6 separate regions of the Homo sapiens genome follow, and all the other regions are linked to region 1. Evidence: promoter capture Hi-C in 16 types of primary human blood cells and fetal thymus (Javierre and others, 2016). All regions are on one chromosome and are shown on one strand. Each heading gives the region's core, a stretch centred on a gene start or on the middle of the fragment in contact. The rest is flanking DNA. Distances are from core to core; before and after follow the strand shown.

What was found. The method cuts DNA at HindIII sites, captures the fragments that hold promoters and counts their contacts. A CHiCAGO score of 5 or more calls a contact.
Region 2: a contact is called between a fragment that was not itself captured here and the fragment with the promoter of TMEM121 in region 1, in 1 of 17 cell types (naive B cells). The highest score is 5.5, in naive B cells.
Region 3: a contact is called between a fragment that was not itself captured here and the fragment with the promoter of TMEM121 in region 1, in 2 of 17 cell types (monocytes and naive CD8 T cells). The highest score is 6.6, in monocytes.
Region 4: a fragment that was not itself captured here is called in contact with the fragment with the promoter of TMEM121 in region 1 in 1 of 17 cell types (monocytes); the score reaches 5.1 in monocytes.
Region 5: a contact is called between a fragment that was not itself captured here and the fragment with the promoter of TMEM121 in region 1, in 2 of 17 cell types (total B cells and naive B cells). The highest score is 6.0, in total B cells.
Region 6: a fragment that was not itself captured here is called in contact with the fragment with the promoter of TMEM121 in region 1 in 3 of 17 cell types (total B cells, erythroblasts and M2 macrophages); the score reaches 5.9 in total B cells.

Annotation. Positions count from the first base shown.
Region 1 is chr14:105,524,976-105,528,360 of GRCh38, reverse strand. It overlaps TMEM121 (transmembrane protein 121), which reads right to left and starts at 1,778. Exons shown (of 2, transcript NM_025268.4): 1 at 1,708-1,778. RefSeq lists a silencer at 1-120. The HindIII fragment of the contact is 18,865 bases long and covers 1-3,385 here.
Region 2 is chr14:106,265,387-106,268,771 of GRCh38, reverse strand. It overlaps IGH and IGHV3-23. Among named protein-coding and RNA genes, the nearest start is that of LINC00226, 21 kb to the left of the region's middle. The HindIII fragment of the contact is 5,888 bases long and covers 1-3,385 here.
Region 3 is chr14:104,914,972-104,918,356 of GRCh38, reverse strand. No RefSeq gene overlaps it. Among named protein-coding and RNA genes, the nearest start is that of PLD4, 8.2 kb to the left of the region's middle. RefSeq lists a silencer at 2,681-2,906. The HindIII fragment of the contact is 308 bases long and covers 1,407-1,714 here.
Region 4 is chr14:104,937,026-104,940,410 of GRCh38, reverse strand. It overlaps AHNAK2 (AHNAK nucleoprotein 2), which reads left to right. Exons shown (of 7, transcript NM_138420.4): 7 at 1-3,158. The coding sequence ends at 2,348. It also overlaps a transcript of PLD4 not described here. Among named protein-coding and RNA genes, the nearest start is that of PLD4, 14 kb to the right of the region's middle. RefSeq lists an enhancer at 416-916. The HindIII fragment of the contact is 1,501 bases long and covers 1,038-2,538 here.
Region 5 is chr14:106,060,747-106,064,131 of GRCh38, reverse strand. It overlaps IGH and IGHV3-7. Among named protein-coding and RNA genes, the nearest start is that of FAM30A, 140 kb to the right of the region's middle. The HindIII fragment of the contact is 4,678 bases long and covers 1-3,385 here.
Region 6 is chr14:106,037,071-106,040,455 of GRCh38, reverse strand. It overlaps IGH, IGHV2-5 and the pseudogene IGHVIII-5-1. Among named protein-coding and RNA genes, the nearest start is that of FAM30A, 120 kb to the right of the region's middle. The HindIII fragment of the contact is 6,337 bases long and covers 1-3,385 here.

The sequences.
Region 1 (3,385 bases), core at 529-3,028:
GGCCTCAGGCCGTTTCCGCGGAGTTCCGGGAATACCCTCTCCCCGCCGCCGCACTGGGCAGGGAGGCGGGCCTGCCCCTCCGCTCTTGGAGTACCCAAGGAGGCCTCGGCCCTCCCAGGCTTTCTGATCCCGGACCGAGAGCCACCCAGGTCCCGATGCATCCGTCCCACAAGCCTCTCCGAGCCTCCCCGCCCCTGCCCGGCAGCCCCCACGCCCCTCCTCCCTGCACGGGCAGGCTCGGTCTCCCCTCCTGTCCACCATCCTGGGCGCGTGGCCACTGCCTGCCCTGCTCCCCATGGCTCCGCATTGCCTTGGCGAGGTGTTGTCCCCCACCCTCTGCCCCGGCAGAGCCACCCTGCTTTGCTCCTCTGCGCCAGGGCGATGCCTGTGGCTGCCCTCGAATCTCGGGAAGCCCGTCCACCAAGGCCCGTCGGGCTTCCACAGGCCCCTGCACCTCTGTCACACACCTGGCACTGGTCCTCATGGCCGTGCTGTCGGAGTCCCCGCACCTGGGCCTGTGCACACCTGGGTGACAATGGAGGCCCGCACACCCGCACCCACCCCAAAGTCACTGACAGGCTTACTCCCAGCCAGCCCCTCACCCCCTCCACAGCCCCAGGCCTGGGGCTCCGTTTACTGCCGTGTCTAGACAAAGGCATAAAATTTAATGTCCCCGTGACAGTCGGGCGCTCGGACTGCCCTGGTGACACCGCAGGCCCCACCGATCCGGGAAAGCGTTGAACTCTGCACTCCCACCCCTGCCCCCACCCAGCACCCGCCGCCCAGGATCCCCACAGCCACACACAGGACACCCCCACCCCTCGGAGCTCTGACAGGTCGCGAGGAGGGTGCCTTGAGGGTCCTCAGCCCATGCCCCTGCCTCCAAGCCTCCCCGCGCTCTGGGTCCCACCGGGACACTCACCCGGTTTTCACGTCCACTGGATCTACACGTCTGACCCAGGAAGCCCTCTCTGGGCCCATTCCAGGCCCACCTGGGCCTCCCCTAGCTGCAGCCGCAGCCTGAGAATTTCCTCCCTCTCCGCGCGTGGCGGGGCCAAATAAATAGCGGGGGAGCCACGGCGCCGCTCACCCTTTCCGGCCGTGCCTCCAGCCCCTCCGCCCCACTACGCTGTCGCTCGATCCTCAGTCACTTGGCAGATGCGGGCCGAGGGGCTCTGCGCTGGCGAAGGGACGGACTCCAGCCCCTAGCGGAGCCCCTACCCCGGCAAGCCAGAGCCCGGCCCGGCCACCTCTCCGTAGGGACCTGGCCCCAGGCCCACCTGTCCTGGGTCTCCTGGGCCCCGGCCGAGGCCCCTCCTCCCCCCACGCCCCGCGGCTCAGACCTGGCACAGACTCTGGGGCCTCCAGGCCCTTCACTGCCCGGGCCCCGCAAGGACCCTCGCCCCATAACCACCCCTCGGAGCCCCCGGGAGGAGGGGCGGGAGGGGGCTGCTGTGCTCCCGCCGCGGGCCGGTGCAGAGCTTGGGCCGCTCCCAGCAGGCTGCGTCTCTGCTTGTCCCCCCGAGGCTTCCCCACGCAGGGCCGGGTCCCCGTCACCCCGCCGGCCCCAGGCCTCACCCCTGCCGCATCGGCCCCCGCCCCACCCCACAGTCCCCACGGCCCAGAGGTGCAGGGTCGCCCAGGCCCGCCGCCCCCTCCGCGGACGCAGCCGCGCACCCAGCCAGTCCCGCCCGCGCCCGCGCCTACCCCGCCGCCCGCAGATGCTGCGCCGCTCCCGGGCCCGCCCGCCCAGCCTCTGCCGCCACTGCCGGGGCCGCGCCGGCTCCTCCCGCCGCGCCCCTCCCCCGCCCGCGCGGCACCGCCCCCGACCCAGAGGCCCCGCCCCGCGCCCCTCGGCCCGCGAGCCCCGCCGGACCTGGGGACCTGGGAGCGCGGGGGTGCCGGTGCCCCGCCCCCTCCGCAGCGCCGGTTGCCACGGCGACAGCACCGCGCGGCGGCGCGCAGGACTGGTGGCTCTGGGGAGCGGGGCGCCCTCGCGCACCCCCAGGCGCGGAGTCCCGTCTCCACCCTCCTCACCCACCGCCCAGAATCCCAGGGTCCCGCCCAGTGCCCCCCGCGCCCTGAAACTCCGCTGCCGCCCCCTAGAGCGACCCCACTCAGCCGGACAGGCGCCCACCGGCCCAGGAGCTGACAGGGATGTAGGCGCGGGGCTGGCCTGGCCGCCGGGGCCCTCCGCGCCACCCTCTGTCCTCTTTGGGGAGAAACCCAGCCTTCCCAGGTTTCTTCTCAGGGCAGAGGAAAGGAATGATGAGCGGCCCCCACCTTCTTCTCCAGCCCGTCCAGGAGGCAAGCTAGGGTTTGGGGACTTGGGCTTCATTTTGTCACTGAGGTGGCACTAAGCCCCTCCCCCCACATCCTGTCCATCCCGTGTGAGCCAGAGAAGAACCCGAGGGCACCTTCTGCCTGCCTGCCCTCCTTCCCAGAACTGCTGTGACTTCCCTCTGACATAGGAGGAGACTGAGGGTCAGAGAGGTAAAGGGACACCAGATTTGGTGGAAAGACCAGAATTTGAGGCACCACCCAACTGGTAGTGAACTTCCAGATTCTCTTCCCGTATCCCCGGGCCTGGACTCAACACGGCCTGAAAGCCAGAAGAGGACAGAGAGCTCCAGAAGTTCTCTAGTCCTGGCACAAGGGGAGGAAAGAAAAAGGTCGCCTAATGCTCCCAGGGTGCAGGAGAATGCCCGGGGGGATGTTAGGGTTTGGGAGGATGGGGTTTTTTGGTAGTGGTTGTTTTTTTACTCTTCTCCATTCTCTGATGCCCCAGCCCCTAGGTATCCCACCAAAGCCATGACCAAGGCATAGGGTTTACAAGCACCTAAAACGCTGAGGCAGAAGAGCCTTCCTTTCCAGCCCCAGGAGATGTGGTCCCCTGTCGCTGGAGAGATGGTGGGCAGGGAGAAGCAGTAGAAAGCAATCCATGGGCTGGGCGTGGTGGCTCACACCTGTAATTCCAGCACTTTGGGAGGCCGATGTGGGCGGATTACCTGAGGTCGGGAGTTCGAGACCAGCCTGGCCAACATGGTGAAACCCCCATCTCTACTAAAAATATAAAAATTAGCCGGGCGTGGTGGCACACACCTGTAATCCCAGCTACTCGGGAGGCTGAAGCAGGAGAATTGCTTGAGTCCGGGAGATGGAGGTTGCAGTGAGCCGAGATCTTGCCACTGCACTCCAGCCTGGGCAACAGAGTGAGACTCTGTCTCAAAAAAAAAAAAAAAAAAAAAGCAACCCCAGGAAGTTGTGCAAGCCATACATGATGTACAAGTCTAAACCCTCATTCACATCCCAAAGGCTGAGAACTGAACAAAAGGACAGCCCACTGCCCACGTCCCACACTGGCCACTGGGCAGTGCATACGAAG
Region 2 (3,385 bases), core at 1-2,500, 740 kb before region 1:
GGCTGGAGTGGGTCTCAGCTATTAGTGGTAGTGGTGGTAGCACATACTACGCAGACTCCGTGAAGGGCCGGTTCACCATCTCCAGAGACAATTCCAAGAACACGCTGTATCTGCAAATGAACAGCCTGAGAGCCGAGGACACGGCCGTATATTACTGTGCGAAAGACACAGTGAGGGGAAGTCATTGTGAGCCCAGACACAAACCTCCCTGCAGGAACGATGGGGGGGAAATCAGCGGCAGGGGGCGCTCAGGACCCGCTGATCAGAGTCATCCCCAGAGGCAGGTGCAGATGGAGGCTGTTTCCTGTCAGGGTGTGGGACTTCATCTTCTTCTGACAGTTTCTCTAGTGAACCTCTCTAACCTCAGAATTCTGTGCTTACTAATGTCATCTCTACGTATTTTTTAAAAGATCATTTTAATATGAGCACCTATTCTCACACGCACCAAATGCAGATTGACGCTTACAGAGATGAAAAGTTCTCAACCATGGTCACCAGGATGAGAGTCCTGAGGAAACTCAGGGGTGCCTGGTGACTCTTCCGCAATCAGTCCTGGGACAGAAACCTCAGGGACAGCCTTTATGAGTTTTGATCACATCTAACAGAGAGGATGGGCCAGGGCCAGAGTCATGTAGAACCTCACAGGTTCCACGTCTGACCCTTCTCCTGACACTAAAGCCAATCAGCATCAGCACTGACCTGGTGCTCCTTTTGCTCCCAATCCATGTTCTTTCTTTGGAGAGTTTCTTCTCCCTTTTTTATTTGCTTTTCCTGTTTCCTGAAAAAGAAACAGATGGTCCCCTTGGTCCACATTCCAGGGCTCAAGGCATTTTCTTGGAGCTCAGGTGGGGCTCAGGCTGTGGCTCCTGCAGCCACGTGGGAGAGGCTGATGGGACTTCCTTCTCTCCCCATTTTCTCAGGACCCTCCACTGTGTTGTGTGTAGGCTCATCTGGGAATGCAGTTGACCATTAATACTGAAGGGGACAAACTCATTTGATCAAAATGGGATGTGGATGTGGAGTTAACCCTGTTCCGTGCACAGTGTCAGAGTCGTCTGCTTCAGAAGTAGTGTTAGAAAGAGCTGGTGAAATTTATCAGAATCAAGATGGAGCCACTTGTGTTAAAGCCCTAATGAATGAAGCTGGGGAAGGCCATGAAGGAGGGTTCTAACACACATATTCCTGATAATAAGAACTACCATAAATAGACTCTGCACAACCATAACCTTGCACAGAAGCCACCACAACATTAAAAGAATTACTTCTCCCAGTGTATCTGCCCAGCAACTCCCTGTTCAACTTTACACCGATGTGCCCCTGTTATTGATCCTTCTAGCCCAGGACAATTGTCTTAAACAGCTGATGTGACCCTCCTCATTTTTCCTTTATTCTTTATCTTCCTATACCAACCTGAATGCACCCATACATTTCAATTGCAATACACTTCCTAGAATACATATTATTATATTTTAGAGTCTCTCTCTCTCTGTTATTCAGGGTTGACAAGCTACAGATGGACATGCCACTTTCTTTTTTTATGACTTTTTTTAAAAATTTTATTATTCTTGTACTTTAAGTTTTAGGGTACCTGTGAACAATGCAGGTTTGTTACATATGTATACATGTGCCATGTTGTTGTGCTCCACCCATTAACTCGTCATTTAGCATTAGGTATACCTCCTAATGCTCTCCCTCCCCACTACCCCCACCCCACAACAGTCCCTGGAGTGTGATGTTCCTCTTCCTGTGTCCATGTGTTCTCATTGTTCAATTCCCACCTATGAGTGAGGAAAAAAATGATGAGTTCATGTCCTTTGTAGGGACACGGAAGAAACTGGAAACCATCCTTCTATCATTCTCAGCAAACTATCGCAAGGACAAAAGACATGCCACTTTTCTGTGAGATGTGGAGGATGACAGTTTTTGGAGATGTCTGGGAATACCCAGTGTCCAGAAGATCATCCATCAATAAGTGCAGGCTGGAGGTCCCAGAGAGAGGCAAAGCTGCTGAAACACCATGGAATTTCATTTTCTCCAGTTCTGCTCTGATGGAATCAGGCCCACCTGTTTTGCTTGTCTTAAGTAAATTCACAGCACCACATATATTAGTGTTGCAGTGAATAACTACAAAGTCTATCCTAACCAAGTGTACCATCAAATTTACCATTACCCAGAGGGAAGAATCTTTAACATGAGATCTATGTTCATAATTTTTTAAGGTGAAAAAGTGATCACTATCCAATCAGGCAAATATGATTTTGCTAATGAGTGGTAGATGTTGCATGTATTTTTGGATGTCATCCCTTTTTCAGATGCATGGCTTGCAATTATATTTTCCCATTCTGTAGGTTGGAATTATTTCCACACTTTGTAGAATCTTTTTGTTGTGATGTAGTTCCACCTGTTTAATTCTGCTTTTGTTGTCTGTGCCTTTAATGTGAAATATAGGAAATCATTGTTAATATATTATTTTCTGGGTCGGGGAAATTTTACAATTGCAGGCCATATGTTTAAATATCTGGCCCATTCAGAGTGATTTTTGTGTTTATTCTAACCCAAAATTCTTAACTCTTTGCATGTGTACATCCAGTTTTTCTAACACATTCATAGGGAGAGACTTGGTTTATCTGTTTTATATTGTGGGTTCTTATGCTGAAAATCAGTTTGCCATTGATACATCAGTTTATTTCTGAGCTCTTTCTACATATTTATGCCAACTCCATCCTGTTTTTATTATTCTACTTTTGTTATTACTTTTGAAATCTGGAAGTAAGATGTAAGTTTATTTTTGCCTTTTTACAGATGCTATAGCAAAATATTTTAACCTTTCACTCTTCCATATAAAAGTATGGCTTTAAATAATGACTTTTATTATATACAGGTTATATTCTTGTATTCCTAACTTTTAGAGGTTTTATTATGAGATCTTGAATTTTTTAAATGTTATTTTCTATGTCTGGTGAGAAGTTAACTGATGCTTTTCCTTTATTCTCTTAATTTACCACATCAGATTTATTGATTTGAAGATATTGATTCATCAGCGCATCTCAAAAATAATTTGGAGCTTGTCATGGTGTACAATCCTTTTAAAGTCTTATAGAACTTAGTTGACTATGAATTGGGAGTAGCTTGTTTACATATACTAAGAACATTTGTCAGAAGTTTGGTTTTCTTCTTTTGCCTTGTCTATTACTGGTAATACAGTGATTGGAGCCTCTTAGAAAGAGATTAGAAGGTGGGGACCTCACGGATTTTTTAAAAAGTTAGAGAACGGTTGTCATCACTTTTTTAAACGCTGAGAGTCATTTGTTATCTAATATATAACCCATCATGAGGAATATCTCTAGTGTGCTTGGGAAGCATGCATATTACGCTGCTGTTGGTT
Region 3 (3,385 bases), core at 311-2,810, 610 kb after region 1:
AGACTCTGTCTCAAAAGAAAATGCATTATGCATTTAATACCCCTAACTTACTGAACATCATAGCATAGCCTGACCTTAAACGTGATCAGAACACTTGCAGACATTTCTTTTTGTTGTTGTTGTTGTTGAGATGGAGTCTTGTTCTGTTGCCCAGGGTGGAGTTTGGTGATGCAATCTTGGCTCACTGCAACCTCTGCCTCCCAGATTCAAGGGATTATCATGCCTCAGCCTACGGAGTAGCTGGGACCACAGGCAAGCGCCACCATGCCTGGCTAAGTTTTGTATTTTTAGTAGACATGGGGTTTCACCACGTTTGTCAGGCTGGTCTTGAACTCCTGACATTGTGATCTGCCCTCCTTGGCCTCCCAAAGTGCTGGGATTACAGGAGTGAGCCACGGCACCTGGCCAACTTACAGATATTTCTGAGAAGAAGATATACAAAGGCCGGGCTTGGTAGCTCACGCCTGTAATCCCAGCACTTTGGGAGGCCAAGGCGGATGGATCACCTGAGGTCAGGAGTTTGAGACCAGCCTGACCAATATGGTGTACCCCTGTCTCTACTAAAAATACAAAAATTAGCCGGGCATGGTGGCAGGTGCTTCTAGTCCCAGCTACTCAGGAGGCTGAGGCAGGAGAATCTCTTGAACCCGGGAGGCGGAGGTTGCAGTGAGCTGAGATGGCACCACTGCACTCCAGCCTGGGCAACAGAGTGAGACTCTGTCTCAAAAAAAACACAAAAACCAAAAAAACATGGCTAACAGGCATATGATTTCACCCTAGAGTTGGGCAAAATCACCTAACACAAAGCCCACTTTATAATAAAGTGTCAATACCTTGTGTAACTTATTGAATACTACACTGAAAGTGAAAAACAGAATGGTTGTGTGGGTGCTCAAAGCATGGTTTCTACTGAAGGTGTGTCACTTTTGCACCACGATAAAGTTGAAAGATCATTAACTCGAATTGTCCTAAGATGGGACCATCTGTACTTGAATCGTGGGGAGTGCCGCTTTCATGAAAGGAAGCGTCCACTGATGCGGCAAACTTCATTGTTGTCTTATTTAAGAAACTGCCACAGCCACTCCAGCCTTCAGCAAGTACCACCCTATCAGTCAGCAGCCATCAACACTGAGGCGAGACCCTCACCGGCAAAAAGATTACAACTCCCCCAAGGCTCAGATGATTATTAGCATTTTTTAGCAATAAGATATTTTAAAATTAAGGTACGTACAGTTTTTTTTCAACTTAATGGTATTGTACACTTACTAGACTACGTAAAGTATAAAGATAACTTTTGTATGCACTGGAAAGCTGAAACATTTATGTGACATTGCAGCGGCCTGGAATTGAGTCGGCAATACTTGCAACATATGTGTAGTTCTTGCTGGCGAGGCAGGAGAAAAGCTTGAATCTTTCTCTCTAATTACCAATTTTCAGGGTAAGGGGTTTGTGCAATGGGCTGTCTCTGATGGTGGCAGATGAGTTTTTGTTTGCTTTTTGCTTTAGTTTTCTTTCTTTGACTTTTTGATGTATCATTATGGACTCACGGATTATTATATATTTAATGTGTTTTGATCCAGTTCAGTCATCATTCTTTGGTCAGTGGGAGCTCTTTCATCATTTTTGCTGGAAAATTTAAAAGTAATGGGCAGAGATAAATGATATTTTACCTCTAAATACTTGAGTATGCATTTCTGAATAAAGAAGGAAAGCTTCCTGCATAATCACAGCTTCATTACCCCACTAACAAAATCCATCATTCTGGCCACTATATTCTTTTTTCATATTTCCAATAATCTATGCATCTTAATTCAGCTGCTTTCTGCCACAACAAGATCTTCCAGCCTTATCTTATTACACATTTCCTGCACCAGACCTGGACTCAGCTACTTACTGAGGAGTCCATGGGTCTTTAAAGTGGGGAAATGGCATTTAGAAACCCAGGTTAAATCATGAGTTCCTATTGATAGTTCCAATTCAAATTTAACATTAAAAATTTTCCTTAGGCTGGGAACAATGGCTTACGCCTGTAATCCCAGCACTTTGGGAGGCCAAGGTGGGTAGATCGCTTGAGCTCAAGAGTTTGAGAGCAGCCTGGGAAACATAGCAAAACCTCATTTCTACAAAAAATACAAAAAATTAGTTGGGTGTGGTGGTGCACACCTGTAGTCCCACCTATGTGGGAGTTTGAGGTAGGAGGATTGCTTGAGCCCATGAGGTCTAGGCTGCAGTGAGTCGAGATGGCACCACTGCACTCCAGCCTTGGTGACAGAGCAGAGACCATGTCTCAAAAAAAAAAAAAAAAAAAAAAGAGTTTTTCTTAATTTCTTTGGTTTTGTACTTGTATGTCATTTCTCTTATATGGAAAATTTTGGCTCCTAACAACTTTAATGTAATTACTAGCTTTAGCTTACCCTATATTTAACATGTTTTCAAAATAACAATTCCAATATCTCTACAGCCAGTAATACTAGTAAGAGAAATTTAAGATTTCTTTGCAAGTTTTTTTTTCTTTTGCTGTTATCTAAGTGTGTAAAGCCAAATACTCTGCTCTAAAGGCCCCCCTGTTTTTTCACATTGAGGTGTTGTCTACACCTGGAACTGATTGCTTTGGAAGGCTGGAGGCAGAGTTCCATTTCACTTCTTTTCCTCGTGGGTATTTAAGACTATTCCGTCTTCCTCCAACAGATATGTCTGGCCAGCTCTGACGAACTCAAGTCGCCACATGTGCGGGTCTTTGTCCCGGTTCTCTTTCCCATTCCGTTGATCCGTTTCTCTCCGTGCTGTGTTGTTCTATATTCATTATCACAGCTTTGTTCTGAGGTGCGCGGTCTGATGAGCAAGTCTCTCCCTTCTTTAGAAGCACCATGTGCTTTTGGGGCAACCATTGAGATGACAATATGGTTTTTCTCCTTTAATATGTGAATGGAATGACTTAGACATTTTCTAAAATTAAATTAACCTTGGATTCCTGGAATAATCCCAACTGAACCAAAATATCATACACAGTTTGAAACTTGGACAACACAGGTTTGACTTGCATGGGTCCCCTTACACGCAAACTTTCTTCTGCCTCTGCCATTCCTAACACAGCAAGACCAAGCCCTCCTCTTCCTCCTCCTCCTCAGCCTACTCATTGTGAACACGACGAGAATGGAGACCTTTAGGATGATCCACTTCCACTTAATGAAGTGCAAATATATTTTCTCTTTCTTATGATTTTCTTAATAATATTATGTTCTTTCTTCTAGCTTACTTGATTGTAAGAATATAGCATATAATAAAGACAACATAAGATATGTGTTAATCAACTGTTTGTGTGATCTGTAAGGCTTCTGGTCAACAGTAGGCTACTAGTCATCAACTTGGGGGGAGTCAAAAGTTA
Region 4 (3,385 bases), core at 539-3,038, 590 kb after region 1:
GGAGGAGCACAAAGCCTGGCTTTGCCATGCCAAAACTTGCACTTCCCAAAATGAAGGCTTCTAAGAGTGGGGTCAGCCTGCCACAGAGAGACGTGGATCCTTCCCTTTCTAGTGCCACAGCAGGGGGTAGCTTTCAAGACACAGAAAAGGCCAGCAGTGACGGTGGTAGGGGAGGACTTGGTGCAACAGCAAGTGCCACAGGAAGTGAGGGTGTGAACCTCCACCGGCCACAGGTCCACATTCCCAGTTTGGGCTTTGCCAAACCTGATCTCAGATCCTCCAAGGCCAAGGTGGAGGTGAGCCAGCCTGAAGCTGACCTGCCTCTTCCCAAACATGATCTGTCTACCGAAGGTGACAGCAGAGGATGTGGGCTCGGGGATGTCCCAGTGAGCCAGCCTTGTGGGGAGGGGATAGCCCCCACACCTGAAGATCCCCTCCAGCCATCCTGTAGAAAACCAGATGCTGAAGTCCTCACAGTGGAAAGCCCAGAGGAGGAAGCCATGACCAAGTACTCGCAGGAAAGCTGGTTTAAAATGCCCAAGTTCCGCATGCCCAGCCTTAGGCGCTCTTTCAGGGACAGAGGCGGGGCTGGAAAGCTGGAAGTGGCTCAGACACAGGCACCGGCAGCAACAGGGGGTGAAGCAGCAGCTAAAGTCAAAGAGTTCCTTGTTTCTGGGTCAAACGTGGAGGCAGCTATGTCCCTACAGCTCCCAGAGGCAGATGCAGAAGTGACAGCTTCTGAGAGCAAATCATCCACAGATATTCTAAGGTGTGATCTTGACAGCACAGGCTTGAAGCTGCACCTCTCCACTGCTGGGATGACTGGGGATGAGCTTTCCACTTCTGAGGTCAGGATCCATCCATCCAAAGGACCTCTCCCTTTTCAGATGCCTGGCATGAGGCTTCCAGAAACCCAGGTTCTTCCAGGAGAAATAGATGAGACTCCTCTTTCCAAGCCAGGACATGACCTTGCCAGCATGGAGGATAAAACAGAGAAATGGTCTTCCCAGCCTGAAGGTCCACTTAAATTGAAAGCTTCAAGTACTGATATGCCATCCCAGATTTCTGTGGTTAATGTGGATCAACTGTGGGAAGATTCTGTCCTAACTGTCAAATTCCCCAAATTAATGGTACCAAGGTTCTCCTTCCCTGCCCCCAGCTCAGAGGATGATGTGTTCATCCCCACTGTGAGGGAAGTGCAGTGTCCAGAGGCCAATATTGATACAGCCCTTTGTAAGGAAAGTCCGGGGCTCTGGGGAGCCAGCATCCTGAAGGCAGGTGCTGGGGTCCCTGGGGAGCAGCCTGTGGACCTTAACCTGCCTTTGGAAGCTCCCCCAATTTCAAAGGTCAGAGTGCATATTCAGGGTGCTCAGGTTGAAAGTCAAGAGGTCACTATACACAGCATAGTGACACCAGAGTTTGTAGATCTCTCAGTACCCAGGACTTTTTCCACTCAGATTGTGCGGGAATCAGAGATCCCCACGTCAGAGATTCAAACACCTTCGTACGGATTTTCCTTATTAAAAGTGAAAATCCCAGAGCCCCACACGCAGGCTAGAGTGTACACAACAATGACTCAACACTCTAGGACTCAGGAGGGCACAGAAGAGGCTCCCATACAAGCCACCCCAGGAGTAGACTCCATTTCTGGAGATCTCCAGCCTGACACTGGAGAACCATTTGAGATGATCTCTTCCAGCGTCAATGTACTGGGACAGCAAACACTCACATTTGAAGTTCCTTCTGGCCACCAGCTTGCAGACAGCTGTTCAGATGAGGAGCCAGCAGAAATTCTTGAGTTTCCCCCTGATGATAGCCAAGAGGCAACCACACCACTGGCAGATGAAGGCAGGGCTCCAAAAGACAAACCAGAAAGTAAAAAATCTGGTCTGCTCTGGTTTTGGCTTCCAAACATTGGGTTTTCCTCTTCTGTTGATGAGACAGGTGTTGATTCCAAAAATGACGTCCAGAGATCTGCTCCCATTCAAACACAGCCTGAGGCACGACCAGAGGCAGAACTGCCTAAAAAACAGGAGAAGGCAGGCTGGTTCCGATTTCCCAAATTAGGGTTCTCCTCATCTCCTACCAAGAAAAGCAAAAGCACCGAAGATGGGGCAGAGCTGGAAGAACAAAAACTTCAAGAAGAAACAATCACGTTTTTTGATGCCCGAGAAAGTTTCTCCCCTGAAGAGAAGGAAGAGGGTGAACTGATCGGGCCTGTGGGCACTGGGCTGGACTCCAGAGTGATGGTGACATCCGCGGCAAGAACAGAGTTAATCCTGCCCGAGCAGGACAGAAAAGCTGACGATGAAAGCAAAGGGTCAGGCCTGGGACCAAATGAAGGCTGAGAGGTATGGCTCATCAGTACAAGAGAGATGCAAAAAACTAAGTTGGAAAGTAAAGGCTACACACACATATGGAGCACCCCATCCCACAGCACATTACATCCACCTCACTTCACAGAACGGAGAACAGAGCAGAAATGACCAGAACACCTTTGTCACCATCACACAGCCCTCCTAAAATGGAACCAAAGCTTCCCAGCTCCCTCAAAGCTTTGGATGCAAAGAAGGCACCCTGACTTCCACAAGACACCAGAATTCACACGGTACTCAGAGGCACTGCTGGGGAAGTTTGTTGGTCTTTATTAGATAAATTTCCAGAGACCTGTCCATAATACCCAACAGAACATGACTGTTTCTTTGAGGAAAGGGTTATAATGTCTGTGGTGTACAAGTCGTTTTTGGTATAACTTCTTTCCTGCTGCTGCTGCTTCCCGGCAAACATAGTTTTCCTATTTCAGGCAGAGTGCGGTATATTCCAGGAAACACTGTTTCCTACTCACTTAGCTTACTTCTTTGTTGAATGCCTCACTAATGGCAAGTTTCAAGATGTTTTGGGTGACAATGCACACATGCTGGGCAAAAGGGTGATGGCCAGTGGCTGGCAGCTGGGCCAGCAGAAGCTAGGACATCTGTGAGTTGTCATTCTCATCTATCCATGTCCACTGGCCTGCCAGCATCCGCCAGTGCCTTGCCAGTGTGCACGGTCCCACACTGTGGCCCCTGAGTCCCCTAATGTACACGCTGCAGCCAGAATGCAGATGGAGCTGGCTTGGCTGTTCCCTGGATGGGCAATAAAGAAAGTGCTGCATCCCATGCTGAAGGCTGCTGAGGTCTTCTGTCTCAGGGTCGAAGTTTACCAGGGCTTTCCTCCCACACACTCCTGGTCTCTACTAAGCAGCTCTAGAGAACAGTCAATGAGGAACATTTGGGTGGTTGCCTACCTATCATCCATTTGTCCAGGTCCTCCTCTGAGCCAGAGGCTGTGAGGAAGACAAGGAAGATAGGGCTGAGTTCACAGTGTGGCAGGGACACAGACGTAC
Region 5 (3,385 bases), core at 433-2,932, 540 kb before region 1:
GAAGGCATTGTGACCCTGAGTCTGGGTGTGACATTGCCGGTGTTTCTGAACTTCTGCCAGATGAGATGTTGGTCTGTGTGTTCTTGCTGTTTTCCCTGCTGTGGAGTCCTCTTGTTTTCCCCAGTTGTTCCCTCCCACAGCTCCAATGTTCTCTTTTGGTGTTATCAGCTTCCAGAGTTGATGACCTGACCTAGAGATTAAGGCTCTGATTAAATAAGAAGGAGGGGAGATACTTCTCAATGGAACTTAGGTGAAGACCTCTTTTTCCATCTCAGTTCCTAAGGGATGGCCCCAGTGCCCCTAAGATCCTGGCTTTGGTGGCTTGCTCCTGCAGAGTAATTTCTTAGTTCTGCAATGGGGATTAAGGAGGTGGGTCTGAATGCATTTCAGAGTGTGGGCTCTTTTTCTCTCCCAGACAGACACATTGGGACAAAAGATTTTTGTGACTGTCCCCATTTTTGGGAAAAAGGTTTCAAGGTATAGGAAAGCTCTTCAGTATGTGGTCCCTGAGAAATTCACGCTACAACACATTTACCACACTTGACTTCACCAATTCAGTATCTATGTATTTTTTTCTCTTATAATAGCCTACATTTTTATATGCCAGACTCTGCCTCAGTTCAACTCGTACCCATGCCTTTTTACTCTCTGCAAGAACTTGTCTCTCCCTAAATTTCGGATTTGATGATTATCTTAAAACCTCCAGTATTTAAAGTATATTTTAAAATTGGCAAAATTCCATCTCCTGTGTTTATCTGTTATGTTGATGCTGTAAAACAGTAAGTAAAATATACTCCTCATCTATGTACATTTTGAAGCTGAGTTGCAGGTTTTTTGGTAAGACCCAGAGTCACAGAGAATTCAAATATTGTTAAGCTGCTTAATAGAAAAACAAATTATGGTAAATGTGTTCACTGGAATACTACCCATGATTTATAATAAATAAATGCCTGACACACAGAACAGCAGCAAAACCACACATGCTCTTATTACAGAAAGTGGCTTCTGAAAACCACACCGGGCATGTACAGCTTTGTCCTGGAGTTGGTTTAGGGGGATGTCAGAGCCAGTGACGAGAAGCACAGGGCCAGATGGCAGCGTTCACTCATCCCAGACATGAGCTCCTGGGTGCATACAGAGCCCCCCCATGTGTGGGTTTACTTCCACTTCTGTAAAAGGAGAAAATACTGACTCCTACAGAGCATAATTTACACATTTTTTAAAAAATGTAATAGGGTGATCAGGGCAAAGTGTTTATCACAGCACAATTTCATAAGACAGCATATTTTCCAAATACCATCATTGTCAGCAAACTTCTGCAGAGCACCGTCTTCTTATATGGGTACAGCCTATTCCTCCAGCATCCCACTAGAGCTTCTTATATAGTAGGAGACATGCAAATAGGGCCCTCCCTCTACTGATGAAAACCAACCCAACCCTGACCCTGCAGGTCTCAGAGAGGAGCCTTAGCCCTGGACTCCAAGGCCTTTCCACTTGGTGATCAGCACTGAGCACAGAGGACTCACCATGGAGTTGGGGCTGAGCTGGGTTTTCCTTGTTGCTATTTTAGAAGGTGATTCATGGAAAACTAGGAAGATTGAGTGTGTGTGGATATGAGTGTGAGAAACAGTGGATTTGTGTGGCAGTTTCTGACCTTGGTGTCTCTTTGTTTGCAGGTGTCCAGTGTGAGGTGCAGCTGGTGGAGTCTGGGGGAGGCTTGGTCCAGCCTGGGGGGTCCCTGAGACTCTCCTGTGCAGCCTCTGGATTCACCTTTAGTAGCTATTGGATGAGCTGGGTCCGCCAGGCTCCAGGGAAGGGGCTGGAGTGGGTGGCCAACATAAAGCAAGATGGAAGTGAGAAATACTATGTGGACTCTGTGAAGGGCCGATTCACCATCTCCAGAGACAACGCCAAGAACTCACTGTATCTGCAAATGAACAGCCTGAGAGCCGAGGACACGGCCGTGTATTACTGTGCGAGAGACACAGTGAGGGGAAGTCAGTGTGAGCCCAGACACAAACCTCCCTGCAGGGGTCCCTTGGGACCACCAGGGGGCGACAGGGCATTGAGCACGGGGCTGTCTCCAGGGCAGGTGCAGGTGCTGCTGAGGGCTGGCTTCCTGTCGCGGTCTGGGGCTGCCTCGTTGTCAAATTTCCCCAGGAACTTCTCCAGATTTACAATTCTGTACTGACATTTCATGTCTCTAAATGCAATACTTTTTTTGTCCTTTTTGTTTCTTTGTTTTTTTGCAACAGGAGTACATATCCTCAGCTCCACAGAAGCCAGGGTGTCACTTTGGGGGCAGAAATAATCCTTTCGTGGTCAACAGGATGAGAGTCCTGAGGAATCCCAGGGAAACCTGGAGAGTGTTTTCCAATTAGACTCAGGGCAGAGACCTCCATGGGAATTTCTGATTAGAACGGGCTTTGAGCTCTGATGGGAGCCAAGAGACAGGCTCACCCAGGGTCGGGGTCCTTAAAGCCTGATGGTTTTCACAGCTATCCCCCCTCGTCTTGTAAACTCAGACTGATTCAGTTGACCCTTTTTCTGCTAATCCATTTTGCTTCTCTGTAGGTTTGATTCTCACAGTTCGCTTTCTTCTTCTCTTCCCTGAGAACAAACGATGTGTTTTCTGTTTTCAGGGAAAATCCCAGGGCTCAGGTCTGCAGGACCTGGGTAGGCTGAGGAGACTTTCTCACTCACCATTGTCTGGACACTCCTGTTGTCTTCTGTGCATGGAGGCATTTGGGAAATGAAGTGGACATTAGTCATTAAGGGAATAATACTAGTTTTCTCCAATTGGATATTGATGTAGAGCTGAACTTGTGCTTCTCACACTGTCACAGAGTTTGGACCCTCACCTATAACTTTGAGGAGAGTTGATGATGGATAGTCCATTGTGGGTGAGCTCTGGGTAACAGTAATTGTAGGGTCTGGCTAGGCAGCCTAAGGTCAATACTTCTGGACCTCAGGAAAGACAGGCTGGAATTCCTGGGAAGACCTGCATCTGCCATCCACCGTGGAGTCCCATCATCTTCTGTTATGCTGTGATTGAATCAGCCCCACCTAGTTTATCTAGAACACTCTTCATGACTTAGGAAAACATAATGGCAAGCTCTCCTAACACCTGTATCATGCCATGGGAGCAACACCTAAGCTAGTGTGTGATTGAGTAGATGAGACTGTGGTCTAGTCAAGACGACAGGTAAAATTGATTGTTGTCATTATGATATTTTATATTTGGCAATATAATCATGCTCATATTATAAATACTTTTGCTACATTTTTTGAGTGTGTCAGAGGCTTTGGAACTGGAACAACTCCATCTTGAATAGGGGCTAGGAAAAATAAGACCGAGACCTGCTGGGCTGGATTCCTAGTAAGT
Region 6 (3,385 bases), core at 516-3,015, 510 kb before region 1:
TATAATTGAATTCTAATTCAAAAATGTAGTACTTCTTTTTCTTTTTTATTTTTTTGAGACGGAGTCTCACTCTGTCGCCCAGGCTGGAGTGCAGTGGCACAATCTCAGATCACTGTAAGCTCTGCCTCCTGGGTTCTCGCCATTCTCCTGCCTCAGCCTCCCAAGTAGCTGGGACTACAGGCACCTGCCACCATGCCCGGATAATTTTTTGTATCTTTAGTAGAGACAGGCTTTCACCGTGTTAGCCAGGATGGTCTCTATCTTCTGACCTTGTGATCTGCCTGACCTGGCCTCCCAAAGTACTGGGATTACAGGCATGAGCCACCGTGCCCAGCCTACCCCTTTATATATAGAACAGAGATATTATAACTATATATGTCTAATTCCTCTTTTCTATCCCTTTTTTATTTTATCAGTTTGTAATTACATAAGCTATAAAAATGTAATATTGACATTTTTATAATTGCTTTACACATTTATGTAATAAAGAAAACACAAATGCAAAAACTAAATTTAAACCTCATTTTTTTCATTGTTGACAATCTTTATCTTTTGGATACATTCAGGTATTGGATGTATATCATATGGCTGCTCATCTAGAAACTCTGCTAAAACGTCTATGGCAAGATTAATATGCTGGGAATAGATTTTCTCAGGATTTGTTTGTCCGACAGAGTATTTATTTGTCTTTGATTTATCATCTCAAGAGACAATGTCAAGAAGATGCTGTTTCTGCAAATGGGCAATCTGCAAACCAAGGACACGTCACTACATTACTGTGCAAGAGAAGCACATGAGGAAAGGCCGGTGTGAGACACAAACCTCCAGGAACACCTGGGCTAATGAGCTGCAGGGGGTGCTCAGGACCCACTGATCAGTCAACCACAGAGGGGAGTGCAAAGGTTAGGACTGCTTTCCTGCAAGCATTGAAAAAAGAAGAAAAAAACTCCGTCTGACAGTTTCTCCAAGGAACTTCTGTAATTTTAGAATTCTGTGCCTACCAATGACATCTCCAAATATTTTTTTAAAATATTGTGTTTTGAGGACATACTCTCACATGGACAAAACACAAATTGACACAGAGATGAAAAGCCCTCAACCATAGTCACCAAAATTGGAGACATGTAGAAGCTCACTGGGACCTGTTGAGTCTTCTCCAATCACACTCAGAACAGAGACCTTAGTGGGTCTCCCTTAGAGTAGTCATTAAGGATGGTGATAACAGCCTAAAGATGGTAGACCATGGTCAGTGTCATATAGAATATGGGGACCCTCACAAGTTTTTTGTCTGACCCTTCTCCTGACACTAAATTATGCAAATTAATAACACTGATCTGGTGCTTCTTTTGATTCTAATTTATTTTATTTTTAGTTGTCGTTCTCACTTTTCCTTTGGATTTTCCTGCTCCCTGGAAAAGGTAAATGTGGTCTCCGTGACCTCAATTCAAGGGCTGAAGCCCTTTCCCTGTAGCTCAGCTGGGGCTCAGGCTGTGGCTACTGCAGCCATGTGGAAGAGGCTGAAGGGACTTTCTTCACTCTCCTTGCTCAGGACCATCCACTGTATTGTGTATAGGCTTCTCTGGAAATGCAAGTGGCCATTTGTAGTGAAAGAAATATGTTTGTCTGGTTAAAATGGGAGGTGGATGTAGAGTTAATTGGCTGCTACATAAACTGTCCTTCTCCACCAGTGCTTTTAGGATGAGATTGTGAAATTTGTAAGAATCAAAATGGAGTCACATATGTTAAAACCCTGACAAATGGATTCAGGAAGTGTAGGGAGAATTCTTACACACATATCCCTGACAACAAGAACTATCATAAAATAGTTCTTGCAAAAAGACCAACATGACCTCATAATCATGACTTCTGCAAAGACTTCTACTCAGAATCTACTTGCCCAGCCTTAGATTAATGCCATCTGAATTACACTGATCATGTTACTATCACTGCTCCTCACCACAGATGCAACACCCTCCTGAGTCCTGAAACCTGACTCCATCCCATAGAGTAGGGCACAGATGAGGGGAATGCAAATCTCCACCAGCTCCACCCTCCTCTGGGTTGAAAAAGCCGAGCACAGGTCCCAGCTCAGTGACTCCTGTGCCCCACCATGGACACACTTTGCTCCACGCTCCTGCTGCTGACCATCCCTTCATGTGAGTGCTGTGGTCAGGGACTCCTTCACGGGTGAAACATCAGTTTTCTTGTTTGTGGGCTTCATCTTCTTATGCTTTCTCCACAGGGGTCTTGTCCCAGATCACCTTGAAGGAGTCTGGTCCTACGCTGGTGAAACCCACACAGACCCTCACGCTGACCTGCACCTTCTCTGGGTTCTCACTCAGCACTAGTGGAGTGGGTGTGGGCTGGATCCGTCAGCCCCCAGGAAAGGCCCTGGAGTGGCTTGCACTCATTTATTGGGATGATGATAAGCGCTACAGCCCATCTCTGAAGAGCAGGCTCACCATCACCAAGGACACCTCCAAAAACCAGGTGGTCCTTACAATGACCAACATGGACCCTGTGGACACAGCCACATATTACTGTGCACACAGACCACAAAGACACAGCCCAGGGCACCTCCTGTACAAAAACCCAGGCTGCTTCTCATTGGTGCTCCCTCCCCACCTCTGCAGAACAGGAAAGTGCAGCTGAGATACGTTTTCCTGCCAGGGCCTGCATTTCCCATCCCCATTAGACTCAGAGCCCTGTCTTCCTCCTTCTTCTTTAATAATAAATGGCATGACTCCTGTTAATAGTTCATAGAAGCAGAAGCTGAGTCCTGTTTGTCAAACATTCAGCATGAAATGTTCATGTTACCTGGGCCAGATGCATCACTGGTATGTGGCCGCCAGTTTAATGGGCTCATACTACTCCAAGCGGCCGAATACAAAACAGCAGAACATATGCCTTTATTAAACTGCAGGAAATGACACTGGAGAAAAATGTGGGGATAAGGGAGCAGGAGGAATTGTGAAAATTCAGATAATAGCTTTTCTCGTAGAGAGAAAGGTGCGTTAATAAAATAATTTTATAAAACAATAAAACAGATGGAATGTGTCCCCATCACGGAGTGTCTCACAGTAACAGTGCAGAAATAAATTTCTAAAAATGTCGTAGGGTAGGTGTGATAGACAAGGCTTATTTCCACACAGGGAGCCCATAAATACCCATGTAATTAAAAATCCAGCTCTTAGAAAGGGAGTGCCTCAACTTGACATCAGAAACCCACGTCAGTGAGTCTGAGGAGCAATGTGGAAAAGAAATGGAAAATTCAACAATACCTTTCTTATGAAAATCCTAGCTCACGTTTCAACATGAAACATAACTGTCTACAATTTTAGGAAAACCATCCCATGGCAACAAGTCACTACACTCAAAAGGTACT